Linked DNA regions of Homo sapiens: all the other regions are linked to region 1. Evidence: promoter capture Hi-C in human tissues and cell types (Jung and others, 2019). All regions are on one chromosome and are shown on one strand. The core of a region is centred on a gene start or on the middle of the fragment in contact, and the rest is flanking DNA. Distances in the headings are between cores, read along the strand shown.

Region 1 (4,249 bases), core at 545-3,044:
GGCTGAGATGGGAGGATCACCTGAGCCCAGGAGGTTGAGGCTGCCGTGAACCATGATTGCACCACCGTACTCCTGCCTGGATGACAGAGTGAGACCCTGACTGCAAGAAACAACAGCAACAAAAAAAACAACAACAAAGGCTTGGAGGTGGGGAAGTTTCTGGGACCCTGGGGAATTCAGGGTTTCAGCCTAAAGAAGCGCTGAGCAGGAGGGTAGGAGCGGGTCAGAAATTCAGTCCTAGGGACAGCCTAAGGCCAGGTCCTGGGCTGGGGGTTGGAGGGGCAGAGCCAGCTCTTCTGAATGCCACCCTTGCCGCCTGTTGCTTGGTACCACAGCAAACAGAGCCTCTGGCAGGCCTGCCCTTGCTGCCTTAGCTCTCCTCTGGCGGGCAGCAGATGTCAAATGCCCAGCAGCTGAGGCTTCGCCAGCCTCCTCCCCTGGAATAGTTCGGGGGTAAGTCAGAAAATGACCAGCAGCCTCAAAACCTGGCTTTTTCTCGTGCGTACCTTACAAGGGTATATTTGGCTGCCCTGGGTGTTAAATCTTCCACCCCCTTGCATTAGACAGAGAAATATAAATATACAGCCACAGGCAGCACACTCAGACGCGAGGATGAATGAACATTTATCAACCCCCAGTCACGCACAAGCACACAGTCAGAGTCACAAGCGGGACCATATGCATGCCCCCCACACAGAGTCAAAACCGCCAGCCCCACAAAGACACTCCACCATGGCACAATCACCACACACATTCACCCTGAGATCACACAATCACACATCCACATGCTCACACACAGACATGTACCCCACAATCACCGCAGAGTCACACAGGGGCACACAAGCCCACACACATTCAACACCACGGCATGCTTCCCCCACCGGCCTCCCAGGCACCCCAGCCCCTGGGGCTTGTTATGGTGCCAGCATTCTTCTGCGATTGAGTCAAAGACCTCCCCAGACAGGGTAGCTAAGTGGAAAAAGGAATCCGAAGGAAGAACGCCTGAAGCCCAGGTCTGGGAAGGGGCCCAGCAGCTTCTCTCTTGGGGAGAAAGACGTCAGTGCTGGTTTGACCCTCACACTAGTGGGCTGAGGACGTGGGGGGAGGTATGTCTTGAAGTTGACAGAAGTGGGCTGAGTGGGGTGACAGGTGGAGCAGGAGAGAGACCCCAGGAAGCCTCAAAGGGTGGGGCAGAAAGTGGGGTTAAATATGGACTCAATGTGATAGGCGTAAACTCCTCCGCAGTTCTCTCTAACCCCAGCCACCCAGCCCGCCCCCAGGCTCCAGGCTGTCCCCAAACGCGCGGGGTGTGGCCGTGAACCCTCCTCCCCGGCCGCGCCCTGCCCCGCCCTTCACGACAGCTGCCGGGGACAGCCCGGAGTGCCCAGAGGGTGGCTGCGGCCCTTCCCCTCTTGGGTGGGGACCAGAGGGCGCTGAGCGGCAGCGGACACCCCCAAACACTCGCGGGAGAGGGGTGCTGGCTCCCTTTGAGCAGCCCGCCCAACCCTGCCTCCACCCTCCCAGGCTGGACAGGGAAGGTGCTCCCTGGGGCTTCAGACCCCCCTTCTGACTCCCCCTGCAACGGGACCTCACGAAAGGAAGGGTGGAGAGAAGGTTCGGGAAGACGAGGGGGCTGGGAGGTTTGGAAAGACAGCTCCAGGCCCCCGTTCCCACCCCCGCCCCAGGCTGGTCCGGGAGGGGCAGCCTCTCCCCGCCCCCAGGTCCGCGCGGCCGCTCCCTCCTCCCCCGGCAGGAGCCCCGGCCAAGTGGGCGCGCCCGGCCCGGGGCCGGCCGGGATCCGGTGTCGGTTGCAGCTGGCAGTGCGGCGGGCGCGGGCGCCGGAGCGAGGGGCCCGCGGGCCCGGCTATTAATAACGCGGCCGCCAGCCCGGGGTCGCGCAGCCATGGCCAGCCCGGAGCCCCGGCGCGGCGGGGACGGCGCCGCCCAGGCCGCGAGGTAGGACAGTGCCGGGCCCGCGTCGCCGCCCCGCTGGGGAAGGGGTGCTGCTGGACGGGTTCCCTTTCCCCCCGACCGCGGGCGTCTTTCGCCTGTCTAGGGGTAGTGGTCCAGCCGGGGTGGGGCACTGGAGCCGCCTCGTGAGGGGACATCGGGGAGTCGGGCCGTCCCGGGGTCCTGGCACCTCCGTTTGTCTGTGGCTTTTTATAATACCCCTCCCCCTCCCGGGACTACATGAAAATTAACCCTTCCAGGCGAGTGGGCATCCACCGCTCAAGTGCCATTTGGCCCATAGCAGCCAAAGACACTTCTCGCTAGCCTTCATTCCTCCCTGCAAATGTCAGTTGGAGACAGAGGCCTCCCCTGCTGAAGTGGCTGTGTGGAAGCCACTTGGTGCAAGGCTGGGCATCTGCCAGCTTGAAGTTAAGAGTCTGTCAGGGCTTGTTCTCTCCCGTCTGGCCTGGGATGGGTGGGGGAAGGGTCCAGGGGCCCTCCCCACTATCCCTCCTGGCAGGGCACGGCTGATTATTGGGGGAAGGGACCTGTGGCTGAGGGGTTTGGGGTGAGGTGTATTTCTGTCCCAGGTCATACTGTGGCTCTGGGACTTCCCAGTGTACCAAGAGGTGAGGGTGCAAATACATAGCTCCCGACACCCCTTCACTGTCACACAGGGGCACAAAGCTGAGCGGTCTTACACACACACACTCACCCATACTGCTGTCCACACCTACAGCTACAGTCAGACACACGGACTCTTGCCTGCACAATGTCACATGGACTCCCAGCCACATCCCTGAACAGGGTTGGAGAGCTCTGCGGTTCTCTGGGGACAGGGACAGAGTGGCAGAGGCAGGCTGCCCAGGGCCCAAGGAAGCCCGAGGTCAGGGGCCCCAACTAAGCTGGCTTCCTCTCCTCTGAGCCTCCTGTCATCTGCTTCTTTCCCTCCTCTCTCTGTTTAAAAGAGGCGGCTGTGTGAGGGCAGCACCCAGCAGAGGCCTGGCACCATGGGTGGGGTGGTGGAGGCAGCACGATGTGTGCTAACAGCACAGCTTGGAGGTCAGGAGGCCTGGGTTTTACTTCCAGCTTTGCCATTCGACCTTGGGCAGATTTCCTCCTTGGAGTTCATCTGGTTTCTGCCTGTCTGCCCTTACAGAGCCCCACCCTAGGATATAGAGCAGAATGAGAACTCTGCTTGTCCTTAGGAAACTCACTATCAGGGAGACAGACACATGTACTTCTGTAACTGGAGCAATAAGTGTGAAGATGTGCTGCATACAGAGTGCCCTGAGAACACACATGGGGCTGTCTGGGAGATACTTTACGGAAGAGATGAAGTTTGAGCAGGGCTTGAAGGATGAGTAGAAATTTGTTAGATAGATAGAAGTATATTGTGGGCCCGGCGCGGTGGCTCACGCCTGTAATCCCAGCACTTTGGGACGCCGAGGTGTGCGGATCACCTGAGGTCAGGAGTTCAAGACCAGCCCGGCCAACATGGTGAAACCCGGCTCTACTAAAAATACAAAAATTAGCCAGGCGTGGTGGCGTGTGCCTGTAATCCCAGTTACTTGGGAGGCTGAGACAGGAGACTTGCTTGAACCCAGGAGGCAGAGGCTGCAGTGAGCGGAGATTACACCATTGCACTCCAGCCTGGGCAACAAGAGTGAAACTCCATCTCAAAAAAAAAAAAAGTATATTGTGACTGCTGCATGCCAGGCTTTTTATATGTGCTGTAGTTACCTCTTTTGGACCTCACGCCTATCCTAGGAGGGTGGTAAATACTGCAGGCCTTCTCCAGCCTCCACCACTTACAACAGTTGTGGAACCTTGTGTGAGTTCTTACTCTGTGCATTGGCTTCCTCATCTATAAAATGGAGATAATAGATGAAGATTCTTTCTTTCTTTCTTTTTTTGAGACAGAGTCTTGCTCTTGTTGCTCAGGCTGGAGGGCAATGGCGCAATCTCAGTTCACTGCAACCTCTGTCTCCCAGGTTCAAGCAATCCTCCTGCTTCAGCCTCCTGAGTAGCTAGGATTACAGGCACACACCACCATACCCAGCTAATCGTTTGTATTTTTAGTAGAGACGGAGTTTCACCATGTTGGCCAGGCTGGTCTCAAACTCCTGACCTCAGGTGATCCACCCGCCTCGGCCTCCCAAAGTGCTGGGATTACAGGCGTGAGCCACTGCACCCAGCCAATAGATGATGAGGATTCTATAAATGAGTATTCATGTAAAATGCCTAGAATAATCTTGAACACGGTGAAGTCATTCCAAGGTGGGCGGCTCGGCACGAG
Region 2 (4,500 bases), core at 1,171-3,670, 330 kb after region 1:
TAGGTCGGAGAAGAAGAAACGGAGATGTTTACTGGTCATGCCGTTGGAGGATCAGGGACCCACTCTTTTTAAAGGTACTTAAAAAAAAAGACTACAGGCTGGGTGCGGTGGCTCACGCTTGTAATCTCAGCACTTTGGGAAGCCGAGGCGGGCAGATCACGAGGTCAGGAGATCGAGACCATCCTGGCTAACACGGTGAAACCCCATCTCTACTAAAAATATAAAAAATTAGCCGGGCGTGGTGGCGGGCGCCTGTAGTCCCAGCTACTCAGGAGGCTGAGGCAGGAGAATGGTGTGAACCCAGGAGGCAGAGCTTGCAGTGAGCCGAGATTGTGCCACTGCACTCCAGCCTGGGCGAGAGTGAGACTCCATCTCAAATAAAAAAAAAAAAAAAAAAAAAAAGATTACAAAGTCGTATGTGTTCATTTTAGGAAAAAAATTAAGGAAAATCACCTCATGAACTCATCACCTAGAGATAACTTTGCTAGTGTATTTGGATATCTTGCTCATCTCTTCTGCATGTGTGCATGCATCTATGGGCACATTTTAAAGCTGGAATCTTACTGTACATGCTTTATTGAAAGGAACTATTTGTGTAGTTTACTTCTTAGTAATAACTTTTATATATATCTTTTTAATATTACCTGTAAGAAGTCATAGCCAAATATGAATGTTTAGAGCAATGATCATCAAATAGTACAGACAGGCATCAGAATCATCTAGAGCAGAGGGTGGTAAGCTTTTTCTGTATAGGACCAGACCATAAATATTTTAGGCTTTTTGGGCCATGCAGTCAAAATTACTCATCTCCGCTCTTGCAGCATGAAAGCAGCCATAGACAGTATGTAAACAAATGATGTGACATGGCTAGAATTTTTTTTTTTTTTTTTTTTTTTTTTTTTGAGACGGAGTCTCACTCTGTCACCCAGGCTGGAGTGCAATGGCGGGATCTTGGCTCACTGCAAGCTCTGCCTCCCGGGTTCAAGCGATTCTTCTGCCTCAGCCTCCCGAGTAGCTGGGACTAACAGGCGCTTGCCACCACCCCCAGCTAATTTTTTGTATTTTTAGTAGAGATGGGGTTTCACCACATTAGCCAGGGTGGTCTCGATCTTCTGACCTCGTGATCCACCTGTCTCGGCCTCCCAAAGTGCTGGGATTACAAGCGTGAGCCACCACGCCCGGCGACATGGCTAGATTTGATCCCTGGGCCATAGTTTGCCAACCCCTGGTTTACAGAAAGGGTCTGTGACTATTGAGTGCCAACTATGTGTTCTAAAAACTTGAAATACATAAGAGAACAAAACAAAAGATCCTGGCACTCACAGGGCTTATATTCTAACTCCTCTATTAATATACAATAAACATATTAAGTCTGATTATGTAATATGTTAGAAAGTGATCACTACAATGGGAAAAAGAACAATCCAGAGCCAGGCGCAGTGGCTCACGCCTATAATCCCAGTACTTTGGGAGGTCAAAGCAGGCGGATCACCTAAGGTCAGGAGTTTGAGACCAGCCTGGCCAACATAGTGAAACCCCGTTTCTACTAAAAATACAAAAATTATCCAGGCATGGTGGCATGCCCCTGTAATCTCAGCTACTCAGGAGGCTGAGGCAGGAGAATCACTTGAACCTGCGAGGCAGAGGTTGCAGTGAGCTAGGATCGCGCCACTGCACTCCAGCCTGGGCAACAGAGCGAGACTCCGTCTCAAAAAATAAATAAATAAGTAAAAATACAAAAATTAGCTGGATGTGGTACCAGGCAGGTGCCTGTAATCCCAGCTACTCAGGAGGCTGAGGCAAGAGAATCTCTTGAACCCAGGAGGCGGAGGTTGCAGGGAGCTGAGATCGTGCCACTGCACTCCAGCCTGGGTGACAGAGCGAGACTCTGTCTCAGAAAAAAAAGAACAACTAGAGCAGAGTGAGGGTGATGATGGGTTGCTCTTTAAACTAGGATGGTCAGTGTAGGCCACATCTAGAAGGTACGATTTGAGCAATGGCATGAAGGAGGTGAAAAGTTGGTCTTGTAGATATCTGAGGATACGAGTTCCAGGTGCAGGGAACAGCCCATGCAAAAGCCCTAAGTTGGGAATGCGCCTGGTATGTTTCTGGAGGAACAAGATTAGTGTGGGCAGAATGGAGTGAGGAAGAAGAGGTCTACTGTTTGGGGGTCCGAGGGGAGGTTTTTGTTTTCTTTAGAGACAGGGTTTTGCACTGTCAACAGGCTGGACTGCAGTGGCATGATCATAGCTCACTGCAGCCTTGAACTCCTGGGCTCAAGTGATCACCACACCTCAGCCTCCTGAGTAGCTGGGACTCCTTAGGTGTGTACTACCATGCCTGGCTAATTTTTAAATTTTTTTCTAGAGACAAGGTCTCAGTTCACTGTTGATTTCCTCTGGAAGATTTCTGTGACTCTCTTGGAGCCTCTGGGCCAAAGTGCTTCTCCGCTCTTTAGTAACCTGCCTTTTCCGAGGTAATAGTTTAAGGCTGTTTGGCATGGATGTGAAGTTCTTCTCCAGCCTAACCTCTAACAGCCTACAGTGTTCCACCATGTAACTCACTGTTTACTTGTCTAATTCCCTGTCAGTGGGCTTTCAGATTGTTTCTAGGTTTCCATCACTATGACAGCACTGCAGTGAACACTCTTTGCTAAATTTCTGACTGAATCCAAGATTTTTCCTTAGAATAGATTCTTAAAAGTGGGGGCCAGGTGCGGTGGCTCACACCTATAATCCCAGCACCTTGGGAGGCCGAGGTGGCCAGATCATTGAGGTCAGGAGTTTGAAACCAGCCTGGCCAACATGGTGAAACCCCGTCTCTACTAAAAATACAAAAATTAGCCAGGTGTGTGGGGCGTGCGCCTGTAGTCCCAGCTACTTGGGAGGCTGAGGCAGGAGAATCGCTTGAACCTGGGAAGCAGAGGTTGCAGTGGGCCGGGATCACACCACTGCACTCCAGCCTGGGTGACAGCAAGACTCCATCTAAGAAAACAAAAAAAAAAAGTACGATTGGTGCGCCAGAGTGAACACAAAATGTAAAGACTTGTGTATTTGTGAGACCCTTTTGAAGCATGCTATCTCCCCAGCTACACCCTCTTCAGGTGCCCCTTCCCTGCCTCCTCCTGCTTTTCACACTGTGGCTCGTGGTTCCAGGCTCAAGCACGGACATCAGTGAGGACTGGGAGAAAGACTTTGACTTGGACATGACTGAAGAGGAGGTGCAGATGGCACTTTCCAAAGTGGATGCCTCCGGGGAGGTGAGTGGGCCTGGTGGGTCAGAGGGAAGCGAGCCTAATGGTCCTGGGTGTGAGAGCTCTCCCCAGCCAGCCCAGCTGTCCCCTCAGGAGGGTCCCTGCTCCTGTCTGAGGTGACAGGTGGTGGGAAAGGAGCTGGAGCTTCCTGCTCAGACCCACAACATTGGTCATCAGCAGGCTGCACTTTTCCTCAGTTCCAGGGTGGATAGAGGGTCAAGTTCTTGACCTTAGCTCTGTATCAAAATTGCCTGAGAAACTGCTTAAGAAAACAGATGTCATGCTGAGCGCGGTGGCTCACACCTGTAATCCCAACACTTTGGGAGGCCAAGGTGGGAGGATTGCTTGAGGCGAGGAGTTCAAGACCAGCCTGGCCAATATAGTGAGACCCCATTTCTGTTTTTGAAAAAAAAAAAAAAAGGAAAAAAGAAAACAGACATCAAACCCTGCCTGACCTTCTGAGTTGTGGTCCTCAGGTATGAGGCCTGAGTATATACTTGGCCTTGGAGACAAAAGACCAGTGTGATCAAGGGCAAGGGCAAGTTACTTAACCTGAGCCCCTGGTTCCTCATCTAAAACATGGAATTGATCATTATAAGACCTGGCTATAAGCTGTAATGAGGTGATCCATGTAGACACCTTAGGGCTATTGCCTGAGACATGGTGACCAGCACTCAGGAGACATTAGTGATAAACCCCACAAAACCCATTCCAGTTATTAAGCTCAAGGAGGCCTTAGTACTGTTATTCTTCACTACCTCTCAGAATCAAAAGTGGCTCATTTAGATTGAGAGGCTGGAACAGTCCAAAGCTCTCCCAGCTAATAAGTGACAGGACTGAGGCTGCAACCCAGACATCTGATTCATGTCAGCGTTAGTTCCACTGTCACATAAGAACCACATGAGTCCTTCCATCATGTAACTTATGAGCCTGTTAGAAAGAGGTGGACAGATTAGAGAGACATGTGAAGGGCCTCCTTTTTCATGATGGGAAACTGAAGCCTTGGGGGAGTATTTTACCTACTCAGGAGTATTTTGCACTTGTGACTACCTCACTATACCCAGGACAGAGAAAGCCCATAGTGCCCTGTCAGGCCACAGGGGCTTGCTGGCTTTTTGTGTCTTTGCAGCCCCCTTTAAAACCTGACGTGCAGTACACGTGAGCATTCTAGAACCTGCTATACCAGGGCTTAGCCGACAGCAGGCCAAGAGTAGGAACAAAGCAAGAAAACGTTCCGTGGGGAGACT
Region 3 (3,989 bases), core at 278-2,777, 380 kb after region 1:
ATGTAGCTCAAATGACCAGCCCTTTTATTCCTAGTCAATAAGCTATGTGATTAGAGATGGAAAGGGGGCAAATGGAAGAGCAGATACTCATGTGAGCTAATCTGTGAGGGTAGGGAAGACTTTTCCATGGGTTTTCTCTCTTTCTGCTATAAACGCTTTTCTCATTCTCACACTAGCTTTAGACTAAAGGGAAGCAATACTGGGTGAGAGGTGGAAGCAGACGTAGGCAGAGAAGGCAGTCAAATGCTCATTGCAAAGAGATGGGAAGATTAAACACTAACCTCAGGATAGTGCTTATACCTTGGCAGTGCTGGTAATGGGGTGGGGGGCTGGGGGAGTGGGAGAGAAAGGGTATGTGATCAAGGAAAGATGCCCAAGGGGGCATCAACTGTATTGATAATGTTTTCTTTCTCAGGCTGGGTATTGGGCACACATGGATGTTCATTATATTATTATTATTATTTTTTTTTTTTTGAGACAGAGTCTTGCTCTGTTGCCCAGCCTGGAGTGCAGTGGCGCAATGTCAGCTCACTGCAAGCTCCGCCTCCTGGGTTCACACCATTCTCCTGCCTCAGCCTCCCAAGTAGCTGGGACTACAGGCACCCACCACCACACCCGGCTAATTTTTTGTATTTTTAGTAGAGATGGGGTTTCACTGTGTTAGCCAGGATGGTCTTGATCTCCTGACCTCGTGATCTGCCCGCCTCGGCCTCCCAAAGTGCATTATATTATTTTTTGATGCTTTTTGTGTGTGTCTAAAATATGTTTTTTTCTTTTTCTGTTTTTTTTTTTTTTTTTTTTTTTTGAGATGGAGTCTTGCTCTGTCGCCCAGGCTGGAGTGCAGTGGCGCGATCTTGGCTCACTGCAACCTCTGCCCTCCAGGTTCAAACAATTCTCATGCCTCAGCCTCCCGAGTAGCTGGGATTACAGGCATATACCACCACACATGGCTAATTTTTGTACTTTTGGTGGAGACAGGGTTTCACCACGCTGGCCAGGCTGGTCTCAAACTCCTGGCCTCAAGTGATCCACCTGCCTCAGCCTCCCAAAGTGCTGGGATTACAGGCATGAGCTACCCTGCCTGGCCTGTGTATCTAAAATATTTTATATACACTATATTTTTTAAAACTACAGAATTGGGGGACTAGAGTTCCATTCTGCATTCTACCATCACCTTGCTGTGTGACTGGGAAAGTTTACATGTCTGTAAAATGGATGAGAATGTCTCCCAATTTTTTACCAATCCCTTTTATCATGTTTTCACCAAAAGCCCCCTAAATGCATTTATTTGTGTTCCCATTTTCACTTGCTAAATATTAGGTCAGAACTTCTGGTCAAGGCTCTCAAAGTGACCAGAAAGGGTTTATTACATTTCAGCCACAAGCAAGGAAACCTGATTTACTCGATCTTATCATAAGCATAACTTCCTAGATTAGGTGTGTGGGATGTTTTTGTGTGTGTGTGGGTTTTTTTTTTTTTCTTTTTGAGAAGGAGTCTCGCTCTGTCGCCCAAGCTGGAGTACAGTGGCGTGATCTCGGCTCACTGCAAGCTCCGCCTGTCGGGTTCACACCATTCTGGTGCCTCAGCCTCCCGAGTAGCTGGGACCACAAGCGCCTGCCACCACGTCCGGCTAATTTTTTGTAAATTTTTAGTGGAGACGGGGTTTCACCGTGTTAGCCAGGATGGTGTCTCGATGTACTGACCTCGTGATCCGCCCACCTCGGCCTCCCAAAGTGCTGGGATTACAGGCATGAGCCACCACGCCTGGCCATGTGTGTTTTTTTTTTATTGAGACGAGTTCTTGCTATGTTGCCCAGGCTGGAGTGTGGTGGCGAAATGAGACCATACCTCAATGCAGCCCTGAACTGGGCTCAAGGGATCCTCCTGCCTCAGGCTCCTGAGTAGCCAGAATCACAGGCATGTGCCACCATACACAACTAATTTTTTATTTTTATTTTTTTAAGATAAAATAAGAGATGGGGGTCTCACTATGCTGCCCAGGCTGGTCTTGAACTCCTGGCCTCAAGCTATCCCTCCTGCCTTGCCCTTCAAAGCACTGGCATTACAGGTGCATGCTACCATGTCCAGCGCCTAGGTTAGATATTGGTACATATTCTAAAAGGGCAAGTTAAGGATTAAGGAATTTGAGGCTGCAGTGAGCTATGATCTTGCCACTGTACTGTACCCTGGATGACAAAGCAAGACCCCATCTCTAAAAACAAGAATAAAAATAAAAATAATTCTTTTTTTAAAAAGGGCTCATTACTGTCTTGGTAGATACCCCAGGTTATAAAGCACTGTGTTAAGTGACATCTAAAGTCTCTGTCTACTCTGACCCTCCATAACCCTACAAATCAACTCAGTGAGGTACTCTGAAGTTCTTAGAGAGGCTTATTCTTCCTGCCCCCATTTCTGATGACAGAAAAATCCAAGACCTAATTATTTTAATTAGAAAAATTTTTTTTAGAGACCAGGTCTCACTATATTACCCAGACTGGCCTTGAACTCCTGGGCTCAAGAAATCTTCCTGCTTCAGCCTCCTAAGTAGCTGAGACTATAGGCACCCAGACTGAATTTTTTTTTTTTGAGACGGAGTCTCGCTCTGTCGCCCAGGCTGGAGTGCAGTGGCGCGATCTTGGCTCACTGCAACCTCTGCCTCCTGGGTTCAAGCAATTCTCCTGCCTCAGCCTCCTGAGTAGCTGGAATTACAGGCATGTACCACCAAACCAAGCTAATTTTTGTATTTTTAGTAGAGATGGGGTTTCACTATGTTGGCCAGGCTGGTCTCAAACTCCCGACCCCAGGTGATCTGCTTGCCTCAGCCTCCCAAACTGCTGGGATTACAGGCGTAAGCCACCACACCCAGCCAGACTGAATTTTTTAATGTACAACTTTAGAATGCTGGATTCGGAAAAATTGGCGCACCAGAGCAGAACCTGCACACTCCTCAGGGCATAGCATTTTGTCTGCCTTGATAAGTTTGTAAATAATAAAAATAGTAAGTCATAATAGCAAAAGTGATTATGCAATAGCAAAAATAGCAAAAGCAATTCATTGAGGGTAGACATATTATATATATTTAAATATATTATCTTCACTTATTCCCCCATCCTTGACTATGAAATAGGCACTAATGTCTTTTTTTTTTTGGTCTCGCTCTGTTGCCCAGGCTGGAGTGCAGTAGTACAATCATGGCTCACTGCAGCCTCGACCTTCCAGGCTCAAAAGATCCTCCCTCCTCAACCTCCTGAGTAGCTGGGACCACAGGTGTGCACCGCCATGCCCAGCTAATTTTTTTATTTTTTTGTAGAGATGAGGGTCTCACTATGTTGCCCAGGCTGGTCTCAAACTCCTGGCTGGGCTCAAGCAATCCTCCCACCTTGGGCTCCCAAAGTGCTAGGATTACAGGCATGAACCGCTGTGCCTGTCCTGTCTTCCTCTTAAAGAGGGAAAACAGGTCGGGCACAGTGGCTCAGGCCTATAATCCCAGCACTTGGGGAAGCCGAGGCTGGCATATCACCTGAGGTCGGGAGTTTGAGACCAGCCTGACTAACATGGAGAAACCTAAAAATACAAAATTAGCCGGGCGTGGTGGCACATCCCTGTAATCCCAGCTACTCAGGAGGCTGAGGCAGGATAATCGCTTGAAGCCGGGAGACGGAGGTTGTGGTGAGTAGAGATCGCCCCATTGCACTCCAGCCTGGGCAACAAGAGCGAAACTCTGTCTCAAAAAAAAGTGGCAGGGGCGGGAAATAACACCAGAGGGGCTAGGAAACCAAGGATTCAAACTAAGACATGAAAGCTTATTTTCTTACTTTAATAGCAAGTTGCTCCTCTAGTGAGAGCCCACTGTGCTGAGAGTAGAGCCTGATCCTTGGCCTAAATGGGTTATGGAAACCTCTAAAGCCATCTACAGGAAAGGCATGAATTTGCCTCATCTTGGAGGGAAATAAGACCCTGCAATTCAGAGAGCAAACACCTCACTCACA

What was found. The method cuts DNA at HindIII sites, captures the fragments that hold promoters and counts their contacts. A contact is called where the count stands out against the background at its distance.
Region 2: a contact is called between a fragment that was not itself captured here and the fragment with the promoter of SYNC in region 1, in 1 of the 25 tissues and cell types used here (psoas muscle).
Region 3: a contact is called between a fragment that was not itself captured here and the fragment with the promoter of SYNC in region 1, in 1 of the 25 tissues and cell types used here (pancreas).

What each region holds. Positions count from the first base shown.
Region 1 is chr1:32,700,315-32,704,563 of GRCh38, reverse strand. It overlaps SYNC (syncoilin, intermediate filament protein), which reads left to right and starts at 1,794. Exons shown (of 5, transcript NM_030786.3): 1 at 1,794-1,956. The coding sequence starts at 1,904. RefSeq lists silencers at 1,245-1,334, 1,385-1,434 and enhancers at 795-1,560, 1,561-2,326. The HindIII fragment of the contact is 12,190 bases long and covers 1-4,249 here.
Region 2 is chr1:32,367,206-32,371,705 of GRCh38, reverse strand. It overlaps BSDC1 (BSD domain containing 1), which reads left to right. Exons shown (of 11, transcript NM_018045.8): 10 at 3,156-3,259. Among named protein-coding and RNA genes, the nearest start is that of TSSK3, 6.9 kb to the right of the region's middle. The HindIII fragment of the contact is 7,750 bases long and covers 1-4,500 here.
Region 3 is chr1:32,317,716-32,321,704 of GRCh38, reverse strand. All of the region lies in intron 3 of HDAC1 (histone deacetylase 1), which reads right to left. Among named protein-coding and RNA genes, the nearest start is that of MARCKSL1, 17 kb to the left of the region's middle. The HindIII fragment of the contact is 4,777 bases long and covers 1-3,915 here.